3 separate regions of the Homo sapiens genome follow, and all the other regions are linked to region 2. Evidence: promoter capture Hi-C in 16 types of primary human blood cells and fetal thymus (Javierre and others, 2016). All regions are on one chromosome and are shown on one strand. The core of a region is centred on a gene start or on the middle of the fragment in contact, and the rest is flanking DNA. Distances in the headings are between cores, read along the strand shown.

Region 1 (4,302 bases), core at 252-2,751, 490 kb after region 2:
TGGAAAAAAATAATCAGTCCGATAAGAGGCCCAATCTTTTAGTTTTACTATGTAAGATATGAGGCCTCCTGACCCTTGGAACTGTAAACACAACCCCCTAAGAGGACCTCGGAAATCTTTCACAGATAGACAAGTGGGTCCTCTTATCTGTCTAGGAGATAGGAGAATGCTTCGTTCTTCTCTTTTCTGCATTTCTGTGCACGTCTGTTGAAATTCTGAAGTCCAGTCTCTGGAGACACTTTTGTGCTATCTTACATGCATGTGAATATCACAGTGCTTACTTAAGATTAAACTGCATTCTCTCTCTTCTATTTTGGTACAGAAGGGTCTTTTGACAGGAGGATTGTCTTATTTCCCCAACGGTCATTTGCCTGGGGCCACGCAACAGCACTGTGGACTCTGACCATGAACTCTTGCAACACCCCCATCTCACCACTGCAGTCAAGCCAGAGGGTCGTGGGAATCTCAAGGGAGAAGATTCCCTGGCATTGGAGGTCATAACCCCTTCTTTTCACAGAGAGTTTACAAAATGCTTTTACGTGTTACCTTGTTCTCAGAAGGACACAGAATGTCCTGAGGGTCCTGGAAACTCACCAATAAATACCTCCCAAACAAGCTGAGGATGGTGAGGACACCACTGTACACACCACCTTGTCTCTGTCACCGCATGGCTATGGTGAAGATTTCCTTCCATGCTCCCTAGCCACCGCCCTGTTTCTGGGAGACTAGTGGCTCTCACCCAGCACAATGCTCGTGAGCTCTCTTCCAGCTGTGGAGTGTCTCAATAGTTGCTTCCTTTCTACTGCGGAGCAGTGGCCTGTGTTTACCTTGCTATGTTCATAGGCAGTGCTTGCCATTGATCAGCTCTCACCAGGCCAAGGTCCACAGATTCGGCATCTCCTAGGTTGCTGCTGTTTTTTCTTCCTTGCTGAAAGATGGCATTGAGTCAGGCTTTACACATCGCAGGAACACAATTATTGTGCAGCTCATCCAGCTTCTTCCCTCTGGTTTCATGATGTGCAGATGGATACCATGGAGAAAAGCTAATGGAATGTGGGTCTGCTATTTTAGGTTGCTCAAATAAACAAGCGGGACACATCTTAAAACCATCAACCACGTTATTTTTAAAAGGACACACACACACACACGCACTACTGTACACACACACTACTGTAGCCTCTGGGTTTAGGGGGTTTGCTGTATCAATCTTGAAGAAATGTTTCTTTGTACTGATGGGTACTTCCCAAGTGCAATTATGGTTCCGCCTCTACTTTGCAAATCTCTCTGCACATCCAGTTCACAGAGATGGAATTAATGAGGGTGTGAAAGGGAGGAACGTCAAATACCAAGTGTGGACAGGCACCACCCAGATAGTTATCAGGGATATGAACTGTAGGCCTAAATGCACAGTCTTGATAAAGTCCACGCTGAATGAAACTGTTCCAACCTACACAAATGCAGAGCGATAAGATGACTGCACACAGGTGCCAGATGACTTCTGCTTCATGAGGGAGGTAGATGCCACAGGAAGATCCTCCAGGTAGAAGGGTCTTCTAGAAGCAGGTATGCCATTAGCTGTCTGTGCTGCTGTGGCAAGAGGTGGAGCGTCCATGCTGGGTAAAGTGCTTTGCGGATGACAGCTGTTTCAAGCAGTACATGGGAACTAGTTTTCATGAACCCCGTTGAGGTCGTCTCTTCACCATCAGATCATCATCTGCATACTGGCTTGTGGACATGCTCAGAAACGGTTCTGAACATACTCCAGACAAAGAAACGCAATGACCTGCATCATTAAACACTTCCATTCTTGGCATTCACCTTCCCGGTTGGTCTGGCCGTGCGTTTCATCCAGGACCTTCAATGCAGGGCCCTCAGCTGCTGAAGGCTGTCAGCACCCCGATCCATGTCCCTGGGTCCCTAAGGTGACTTCAGCACCAAGTGGCTCATAATTATATTTTAAAAAGCTATTTTGAATAATGGGAAAATATATATCCACATAATCACCATTCCCAGTGCTCTTATTTCTGCTGCATATATCCCTGCATCTATTTGTAATTCATTTCCTTCTGCTGGAAGGACTTCCTTTAATAGTTCTTGTAGTGCAGGCCTGCTGATCACAAATTCACAAATTCTTTTCAGCTTCTGCATGCTAAATAAGTCTATTTTACCTTTTTTTTTTTTTTTTTTTTTTTTTTTGACAGAGTCTCGCTGTGTCACCCAGGATGGAGTGTAGTGGCACGATCTCAGCTCAGTGCAACCTCCACCTCCCAGGTTCAAGCAATTCTCCTGCTTCAGCCTCCCGAGTAGCCTGGATTAAAGCCACCTGCCACCACACCCGGCTAATTTTTTGCATTTTTAGTAGAGACGGGGTTTCATCATGTTGGCCAGGCTGGTCTCAAACTCCAGACCTCAAGTGATCCACTCACCTCGGCCTCCCAAACTGCTGGGATTACAGGTGTGAGCCACTGTGCCCAGCCTTGCCTTCATTTTGGAAATATATCTTTGCTAGGTATAGAATGGAAAGCTGATCATTTGTTTTTTTCAATAAAGACTTTACCCATTGTCTTCCCACATGCATTGCTATTGACGAGACGTCTGCTCTCCTCGTTCCGTTTGTCCCTCTGTATGTAATGTGTGCTTTTTATTTTCTACAATTTTCCCTGATGTGCTTGGGTGTGCTTTTCCTCGCGTTTCATGGACTTGGGATTCATTAAACTTCTTGGATCTTGGTATGTATAGTTTTCATCAAATTTGTAAAATTTTCTGCTTTATTTTTTTCCAATGTATATTTTTTCTTTCTCCTCCTCCTCTGTTCCAGAAGCTCTAGTTTACATATTCCTTGGGTCTTTGGAAGTTATCCATAGCTTCCTTCTTCTCTGTTTATTTTTTTTTCAATTTTTGTTTTTTCCATATGTTTTATTTTGGATAGTTTATATTATTATGTCTTCAAGTTAACTAATCTTTTTTTCTTCTGTGGTATTTAATCTTCTGTTAATCCCATCCAGTATATTTTTCATCTAAGATAATTGTATTTTCAGCTCTTGAAGTTTGACTTACATCTCTTTTCATTACATGTCTCTACTTAACATGCTCAATCTTTCCTGAAGCTTCTTGAACGTGGAGAATTAGAATTATAATAATTGTTTTCTCATCCGGTTGACTAATTCCATCATCTCTAGTATTTCTGAATCAGTTTTGCTTGATTGGGTTTTCTCCTGATTATAGGGCATATTTTCCTGTTTCTTTGCATGCCTGGGTAATCTTTTCTTAAATCCCAGACATCATAAATGTTACCTTGTTAGGTGCTTGACGTTTATATTCCTATAAATACTGTTTTCAGACACAGTTAAGTTACTTAGAAACAGTTTGATCCTCTTGAGGCTTGGTTTTAAGTTCTGTTAGGTGGGACCAGAGCATCATTTAGTCTAGGGTGAATTTCACCCCACTACTGGGCTGACACCCTACTGAGTACTCTCCTGGGTGCCCAGAAGCTGTGAGATTGTCCAGTCTGGCTGGTGGGAACAGGCACTACTCCCAGCCCTTCGTGAGCATGGGCACTGTTGCTGCGAATGCTTCTGGGTGGGTCTTTCCTCCCATGCAGTTTGCCCACCCATGTGCTGATCAGCCCTCTACTGAATGCTAGGGGTCGGGGGAGATCCCTCTGCACATCTCAGAAACTCCCTTTCTGTGCCTCTCGTTCTTCTGTCCTGTGGACTCCAGCTGCCTCGGCCTCATCAGACTCCCAGTTCCATCTCAATTCAGAAAGACCCTGGCTCTGTCTCAGTCCTCCTCCCTGCACCATGGCCTGGAAACTGTCTCCAGACAGCAAGCTGGCGCAATCGCAGGGCTCACATTGTTTGTCTCAGGGATTACCGTCTTGAACTGTCTGATGTCTCATGTCTGAAAATTGTTGATTTCACATGTTTTGTCCAGATTTTTAGATGCTTCAGGAGGGAGGGGAATTCTAGTCCCTGTTATCCTTCCTAGTGAGAGGTAAAAGTTCATCAAATATTTGCTGACTGTCAAATATTTATTCCATACCAATGATTATCGAGAGCCAGGTGACTTCTATGCATTTGAGCTGCACTGGAGAGCAAGCTCTGACAGCTCGACCCTCGGGGTGGACACGAGGACAGTGAGGTGGTCTAAACCAGAAAATAAAAAATAAACAAAATAGAACAATGAATTATGTACAGAATGTTGGAAGTATTCACTGCTATGGAAAACAAGAAAGCAACAGAGCTGGTTAAGGGGTGCGTTAGGATCATGGTGACCAGAGGGTACGTTTGTAAATAGGGCAGT
Region 2 (3,954 bases), core at 462-2,961:
GGGAGTTTCCCTCCAGCCTCCTTGGAGCCAGCCCAGAGCAGCTCTGGTCTCTGTCCATCCCTGTACCCATCCCGAGTGCCTTACTGGAGCACTGACTTAGGGGTGGTGGGCCTGGGGATGCCCATGGGCCTGCCTTCCCACATCTATGGCTAAGATGGGAAATCTGTGCTCAGACCTGCCAGGGCTGGACTAGAGGGCCAGGAGGTCAAAGCATCCAGCCTCCAGGTTCACAGTGGTGAGATCACACCCCCCTGCAGCACTGTGAAGAAGGGGAGGCCGCGAGCTGGGTGGGCACCCACTCCCTGCATCTAGGATATGTATGCAAATTAATATATGCAAATTAAGTATCCTAAACGACCCACCCAAAGATTGGGACGCCTGGGACCCTTCCCCCAGGAGGTGAAATATCTTTAATCCCCTCCTACCCCTCTCCCTCCCTATCTTTCTGAGCCTCCCCCATCCAGACTGGGTGCAGGGGTGCAGAGCTTTCCTCTCCAGCAGGGCTCTAAGCCTAAGCCGGGGGCAATGGGGAGGAGGGGTGTCTGAGGAGCACTCCCTCTCCCTGGGAGCTCTGCAGAGGAAGAGGGTCTCTGGCAATCAGCATCCTCTACCTCCACCTCTCCAGCGGGCGACCCCTCAGAGAAGGTCTCCCAGTGAGTCTGGAATACGTGCCGAGTGCCTGGAGTGCTATTGTGTGTATGTGAGAGCACATTGGTGAGGCTGCCCATGCATGCCACTGTGGACAAAGACAGATGCGATCGTGTGTGTGTGGGGACTGCGTATATGTTTTTGTCAGTGTGTGTGACCACGAGTCAGCTGGGTATGTGTGCTTGTGGGTATCAGGTGCATGGCTGTGCGTACATGTGTGCGTAAGAGTCGGTGCATTTGTGTTTCAGCGCGGCTAAGGCCCTGACTGAGATGCTGTGTGTGCGGGGGTGGGTGTGACTGAATGCGGGCACGGGTGTCCGTCTGTTTATACGTGTGTTTGCGTGTTTGGGTGTGCAGGTGGCTCTGCGTAAGCGTCTGTGTGCAGGGGGTCGGCACATGGGGGAGGATGCCCATGGTTGGGTAACCGCAGGTCCGCTTGACCCTCTGCCACCTAGGACTGTGTCTATACGGCGTCTGGGCTACAGTGTGTTTGAGTTGCCGTGTGCGTTTCCGTTGCGGGGTGTGGGTTGCCACGGGGCAACTGCATTTTTCTGCGTCTTCATGGCCAGGGGTACAGGGGGCGTCGGGCTTTTCCTGGGGGTTTTTCTGTGTGCGTGTGTAATTATGTGCTTAGTTCACATCTTCATAGTGCGCCTTTGTGTTTTCCTGGGTATCTAACCATTGCACGTGTGCCCGGGACTTCAGCGATAAGTGTTTCGGTGTTCCTGCGTGCGGATTTGTGCTCTCCGGGGAGGTCTGCGGCCCAGGTTCGATTCCTGCGACTTGTCCTAGGCAGGCCTGTATGTGCGCGGCGGCCGCGTGCTGTACAGTGTGAGGGAACGTGTACCAAACGCTCGCGGGATACCTGTGCCCGTCTAGCCAAGAGTGCACCCGTGTGCGCGAGCGGGCTTCTGGGACGCCGCCGTGGTCGGGGGCGGCCCTGCGAGGGGAGGGGGTCACAGGGACTGGCCGGCGCCGGCCCCGTGCGCACGGAGGCGGGGGCGGGGGGCGGGGGCCGCGAGGGGGGAGGCGGTACGAAAAGGGCGGCGCGCGCGGCGGCGGCGGCAGCTCCCCGGCAGCGGCGGTGGAGAGCGCAGCGCGCAGCCCGGTGCAGCCCTGGCTTTCCCCTCGCTGCGCGCCCGCGCCCCCTTTCGCGTCCGCAACCAGAAGCCCAGTGCGGCGCCAGGAGCCGGACCCGCGCCCGCACCGCTCCCGGGACCGCGACCCCGGCCGCCCAGAGATGACCGCGACCGAAGCCCTCCTGCGCGTCCTCTTGCTCCTGCTGGCTTTCGGCCACAGCACCTATGGTGAGTTCCCCGGCGGCCCGGCTCGCGCCCCCTCTGGGGAAGCCTGCGACTCCCCGCCGGCCGCCCGGTGCCCCGCACGCCCCGTCTCGTGAGCCCCAACTCCGCCCGTCCCGCCTAGCCCTAAGCCCCGCGCTGTGCCTGTCTCGCCCTACCCACCACGCTCGCATGCCAAGGCCCGTCCCAGGGGTCCCAGGGCGCAGGGGATGTGTGAGACCCCCAGCCCCTTCCCGCCCTGCAGAAGTGGCGCCAGAGGGGTGTCGGTGCGCTGAGCAAGGAGGTATGGAAAAATGGGGTGCTGTTGTGGAGTCTTCTATGAAAATACTCTGGGGTGCAACTTTGGGGTGTCCCTGTGTGAGCGTTCTGGAACAGGTCTCGGGGCGGGAGTGGGGGACGACTTTGCCGTCTTAGCCCCCAATTCCCAGAGAAGCCCAGCCTGAGCCCTTCCTGCGTGGCGCGTTTCTGTAGGTGAGGGGCTGCGACACTTCTGTCTGCAGCGGCCATCTGTCTCTGACAGCGAGAGAGTTGCCCCCTTCCTGCAGCGCCCCCCCACTCATTGCACCAGTGGTTGTAAGGGGGCTGTCTAGAAAGCTGGGGAGCTGGTTGAGTAAATGCACACAGTAGGTGCCTGTTAAAGTGTCAGAATCTCTAAGCAGTGTTGTTGCAACCTCAGCCCGCTAAGCAAAACCCTGTGTCGTCATCGTTTTTTTAATGCGAAGAGTCTGGGGTAGGGGAAAGAGGGAAGATTTGACCTGGGTGCCCGGCTTAATAGGGATGAACCTTAAAAAGAATGCAGACGCCTTACTGGGGCGCCCACCAGGTGAACCTGTCTGGGCTTTCCCGGAGTTGAACACCTCAAAATCTGCTCCTCTTTTCAGCTCAGGTTGCAAAAGTGACGGTCAGGCTGCATGCCCAGGGCTCAACATATTTCCCTCCACGGTCCCCGTCCCCGCTGTTAGGAGGACTTGAGGTGTCGTATTTGCTTTTGGGAGTCCGAGGAGAAGGTGTTTCTCCTGCTCCTAAGAACGAGGGAGAGTGTACTGTGGTCATTTCATTGCTGGGAACGTGGCAGAGATGTTTTTCCTGAGTGCACTGAGCCCCATCCATGCTCGGATAGGAAGTGCCTACTGTGTGCCAGGCTGGTAGGACCCAAGAGGGCTGTTGGTGCCCTCGAGGGCAGTGGTGGGCTGTGTGGGCGAAGACAGCCTTTGCCTTGGCCTGGGGCCTGGTGGGGTGAATTGTATAACCTTTCTTGTACCTCAGGGGCTGAATGCTTCCCGGCCTGCAACCCCCAAAATGGATTCTGCGAGGATGACAATGTTTGCAGGTAATAGAGTGGCTCCTCAGAGGCAGCTTGTAGGGGCCACGCAGAAGCCTGGGGAGTCGTGAAGTCAGGCAGAAAAAAATAGGGGGCTTGGCCACTACGCTGCAGCAAACAGCTTCCGGGCCCCTGCAGAAAACTGGTGGGGCGAGCTGGGGAGATGGGGGGGGCGGGGGGGGGGCAGCCACAGCTCCTGTCTGCGTTCTCAGAGGTGGGGGGGCAGGTGGGACCACTGCAGGCCACTGCGGCAAAACGCAGCACTCCCCCGGGATCTCGGGGCCCCTCCAAGTCGGCCCCCTCAGCTTGGCATGTTTTCTCTTTAAGTTTTCCCATTCAGGTGGCTGGTGTTTACTTCCCAGGACCACCGGCTGCCACTGTGCAAAGACCCCCAAGGGTCCTTGGTTCCACAGAAAGTAGCCTGAGCTGCCTCTCTACCCCTGCCCTCTTCATATGTCCCCACCTTTCTCCCCCACCCATTGCAGGTGCCAGCCTGGCTGGCAGGGTCCCCTTTGTGACCAGTGCGTGACCTCTCCCGGCTGCCTTCACGGACTCTGTGGAGAACCCGGGCAGTGCATTTGCACCGACGGCTGGGACGGGGAGCTCTGTGATAGAGGTTGGCACTCGCCTTTGTTCACCTCAGCTCTGCGTCCTTACCTGCCTGCCCTAGCCCCTACCACCTCC
Region 3 (4,498 bases), core at 1,588-4,087, 340 kb before region 2:
TGGCTTCAAGCATGTGTGGGTGAGGGACTTGAGGCTGGGGAAGCAAGGTCAGGGAAGGTTGCACGTGCCCTTCTGGGGACTTCTGGTTTTACATGGAAACTCTTTTTTGCATTGTCTTATTTATTTTACAGGCTACTGAAGTGATAGTAATGTAGTCCCCCAGTATGGAGGTACAGTGTGATAGGTCGTTGTGCCCACCTGGGACCTGTCTCCAGCCCTTCGAGCTGTGCACTGCATCCCTCCTCTCTCTCCTCGCAGCTAGCAAAGCACCTGATATGTAGCGGGTGCCAACTAAATGCTAGCTGAACAGAAAGCTCTTGGAAAGGAAATAACTTCAAGGGACCTGGCTTCACATCCAGCTTTGCTGCAGAGTAGCTAGCTGGTCGACCACTGGCCGGCTGCCTTCCTGTGGAGTCTAGTGTCTCATTTGTAAAAGGGCAAAATCATACCTGGGTCATGTGCTCATGTGAGAAAAATGCTGAAAAAGTGCCTTGCACAGAGCCAGGTACCTCATAGGCGCTCAGTAAATGGTGGTTCCCTTGCCCTTGTTTCCTCAGAGTTCTGGAACCAACTTTCCTACATCTTTTCTCTTGCAAATTACATTTTGAGCTTTTCTCCCTCGGAAACATTTTCTTAAGTGAAGAAAGGAAGCTCCAAGTATAGAGATGTCTTTGAAATGAGCTGAATTGATGGGTGGCATTTTTAAGTGGCGAACTGGAGTCCTGAAGTGGCTTGTCTGTGCTCTTTTCTAGCAAGACTCAGAGTCCTGTGGGAGAGAACGTCATATTCTCTCTTCAGCCTGGAGTTCCAGGATTTTCCACTTAGGTCTTTGGTGCTTTTCCTGCCATTCCGGGGGCTGTGAAGTGTGCGCGGAGGCTTCTGGCATCCCTGGCGTGGATCACAGCATGCTGGGATTGATCCTGTGGCCCCGGGGCTTCTCTGCTCTCCTTCCCAAGTCTGCGCTGCAAGGGCTGGAGGATGGGAAGCCCATCTGGAGGGTTGCTGGTGGGCCTGGGCAGTGTCTGACTGGCCCTGGAGTTCAAGTGGTGGCCCTTGTCCTCCCTGTGCTCACCTTCCTGTTGAGGCCTTCTTTTACCTGCCCGCTCACCTCTGGAGTTCTCTCTCCTGATGGTGAGGGGCAGACCTGGGGCCCTGTGGGACTGGCCTTCGCCTGGTGGCGTGAAGTGCTCCCTGGGCCCTGCTGGCAGAGTGGCAGCTTGGGTCACTTTTGCCTGGGAAATTTAGATTTCCTAAACAGAAGCATCCCCATGGTAGTTTTTGAGCAGAGAGCACCTGAGTAGAGGCATTGATTTCTGGCCTTGTGGAGTAGACAAATGTGCCAGGCACGGTGCCACTGGGGACGTGGGGGGAGAGACGTTTCTGCCCCCATGGAGGGGAAACTGTGAGCAGCCAACTAACTGTGACACCTCATGACCAGAAGAGGGCGCAGTGGGCCCAGCTTGGAATGGCAGTGAGGGTGGCTCAGACTGAGGGACTGTGGTAGGAATGCCCTGCTCCTGGGCGATTCAGAGACCTGGGTCCGGGTCTGTGGGGCTGCCCTGGGTGGGGCCAGGCGCCGCAGCTGTGCCCGCCTGTCCCGAGGAGACTGTGTGTGCTGCAGGTGATGACACTGGCATGGGCCCCTTGGGCTGCCAGGCAGCTTCTGGGGAGCCCCACCCACTGCACTGTGCACCCTGGGTTCCTTCCCAGGGCAGAGCACATTTGCTGTCATGAGGTTGGGCCAGGGTCAGCATGGCTGCTAGGGTTGGCATCTCCTGACCCTCTTTTTTTACTGTGGTGTCGTGAACATTAGGGCTTTTATAAGCCATAGATACAAATGGTGGGCCAGGGCCCTCTCTGTTTTAAGATATTTGTCAGTTTTCAGTGATGGGGTTATTTGGCAAATTGGTTTTGGGCAAATTGACTTTGAACAACTTTTCAGTGTGAAGAGTGTATGGCAGGGGCTGGAGGAGCCAGGATGGGAAGACAGATTGGGAACCGGCGGGGAGCCAGGCAGGAGCTGTGGCCAGAAGTCCCGGCTGAGGCCTCAGGCTTGCTGGGCCACCAGGTTTGTGCGTGGCCTGGCTGGGAGGCACATGGTGTTCTTTTCCCTCCTTGGTGTCAGAGGTGGGGCAGCATGGCAGATCTTGGGGACCTGGTGATCTGGGGAAGGCAGTGTGTGGGTGTGGGTGGTGGGTCTGGAGTGGGGATAGGGCCTCGGGCACAGGCAGGAGTCCTGGCTGGCTGCAGCCCAGTCCCTGGAGGAGAGGAAATGGTGGGTGCAGCATGGAATGAGCTCAAAGAGGCGGGTGCAGCAGTACACCCTTCCCAGGGTGCTTTCCCCCTGCCTTTTGGTTAAAATCTGCCAGTGTCTTCTGGGCCCCTGCTGGATCAGGAAGGAGGGAAGAGCTTGGGGGCTGGGTGACAAGACCTGCTTGGGTCCTTCCTCTACGGCCAGCCCCTTGGTTGCGTGGTCTCTGGCAAGTTACCTCACTTCTGAGCCTTCATTTGAGTATCTATAAAGTGGAGAGAATTAAACATGCCTCGCTGGGTTTTTGTGAAAAGTAAACGATATTAGTTGTGAATCACCAAGTGCAATGCCTGGCACATAGCAGGCACTTAGTGTGTGCTCGAGTTCCTGCTTTTCCCCAAGAATTTCCTCCTTTCCTTGACTTGTGCTCATGTCTTATTTTACGTAAGTAGCCATGGAAGCATATCAGCTTCACCTACTAGACTTTAAGCTTCCTGAGCCAGAACCCATTTTTATATTCCCCAGCATCTGGCACAAAATTGTGTACATGTTAAGTGATCGATAAAAATTAAAACAAATTTTTTGGATTTTATCGCAAGCCTTTGGGAAGGGATTGTCTTTTGAGTGGATAAATCATATTCGCCACTAGGGTGCACAGTAAGACTTAATATAAGCAGCTCATCCAAGCTTCTAGAATGTGGAAGAATCCTTGATTCAAGGTAACATTTACTGAAAAATGATTTCTTTCTGATCAGGAGAAAAACAACACAGTCCAACTTATTAATCTAAAGAACATGGAGTGCCAGTTCCTTCATATCCTTAAAACGTAGCTTCGGAATTCATACATTTCAACTGGACACATTACAGTGGAAAGATACTTATTTTAATATGTTCTAAATGTTCTGTGAGCTGTAAAATATGCTTTTATTAGTTTTGAAAAATTTACAGCTAGAGAAATTAAGTAAAATAAAACAATGACTCATAATTCTGCACCGCTGCTCTTTCCTGACGATCCCTTCCTCCCCTTGTCTGTGAACGTGCTTGTTTTTTTCATAGCTGTGATCCCAGCACGGATACCCTTTTATATACTCTTTTCATCTCCCAGTGAACTCTTTTGGCTTAACGTGTTTGAACACCCACTGCACGTAAAGGTAGAAATTCAGACTTTGATGCCTTTTTTTGAAGGAAAACATGTACGTGGCCTGCGTTAACCAAAAACACAACCAGCCGTTATTGAATGCTCCCATGTACAGAACCCTCTGCCAGGCACTGAGAGGGAGTCCCAAAGGAATAAGACCTTTGGGTGGGTGACAGAAGACCCACCAGGGACCTTCTGTACCTGTATGAAAACCTGCAGTTCTGAAACACAGAAGGTTTTTAAAGAAAATATATGAATTAGATGTTGTTTATTTGCTTTACAGAATAATTTGCTCTAGAAATTCTTTCAGTAACAAGCTTCCTTAAAATACTTTGAAAAAAAACCTTTTAATTTTTGACCATGAATGTAATAGATGCTTATTGTGAAAAACTTTAATGATGCAGGAAATATGAAGTATGAAGGAGAAACAGAAATCATTGATAACTCCCAACCCCAAGTCAGTGCCTCATTAACATGAGGGGCCTCCCTGGTCGGGGGCCCTACATTCCTATCTGTTTACATAATTGGGCTTATTGCATAGTATGTGCAGTTTTGAATTCTTCCTCTGCTGCCCAATCTTCTGTAACGTGTAAGGGGAATTTTTCTACCTTATTAAAAACTTTTCCCCAAATATATTTTTATAACTGTCTCAAGTTTCATACTTTGCTCCATCATTTCCATGTTGTTTCCTATAATTTCCTGCTTTTGTTTAAAAAATAATCAGTATTACAGTGAATATGGCTATACATAAATATTGTCTTTTTTTGCTGCCTTAATGCAGTTAAGATGGGCTTTGAGGCCAGGCGCGGTGGCTCATGCCTGTAATCCCAGCACTTTGGGAGGCCGAGGCAGGCGGATCACGAGGTCAGGAGATTGAGACCATCTTGGCTAACATGGTGAAACCCCGTCTCTACTAAAAATACAAAAAATTAGCCGGGCGCGGTGGTGGGCGGCTGTAGTCCCAGCTGCTCGGGAGGCTGAGGCAGGAGAATGGCATGAACCCAGGAGGCGGAGCTTGCAGTGAGCCCAGATCGCACCACTGCACTCCAGCCTGGGTGAAAGAGCGAGACTCCATCTCAGAAAAAAAAAGAAAAAGATGGGCTTTGATT

The links. The method cuts DNA at HindIII sites, captures the fragments that hold promoters and counts their contacts. A CHiCAGO score of 5 or more calls a contact.
Region 1: a fragment that was not itself captured here is called in contact with the fragment with the promoter of DLK1 in region 2 in 1 of 17 cell types (M0 macrophages); the score reaches 5.4 in M0 macrophages.
Region 3: a fragment that was not itself captured here is called in contact with the fragment with the promoter of DLK1 in region 2 in 1 of 17 cell types (megakaryocytes); the score reaches 6.8 in megakaryocytes.

Annotation. Positions count from the first base shown.
Region 1 is chr14:101,216,484-101,220,785 of GRCh38, forward strand. It overlaps the pseudogene LOC100128373. Among named protein-coding and RNA genes, the nearest start is that of LINC02285, 98 kb to the left of the region's middle. The HindIII fragment of the contact is 3,208 bases long and covers 1-3,105 here.
Region 2 is chr14:100,725,181-100,729,134 of GRCh38, forward strand. DLK1 (delta like non-canonical Notch ligand 1) reads left to right here and starts at 1,712. Exons shown (of 5, transcript NM_003836.7): 1 at 1,712-1,955; 2 at 3,216-3,279; 3 at 3,756-3,886. The coding sequence starts at 1,889. The HindIII fragment of the contact is 10,517 bases long and covers 1-3,954 here.
Region 3 is chr14:100,382,426-100,386,923 of GRCh38, forward strand. The region is part of intron 2 of WDR25 (WD repeat domain 25); the gene reads left to right. Among named protein-coding and RNA genes, the nearest start is that of WDR25, 8.2 kb to the left of the region's middle. RefSeq lists enhancers at 1-339, 566-1,075. The HindIII fragment of the contact is 197 bases long and covers 2,740-2,936 here.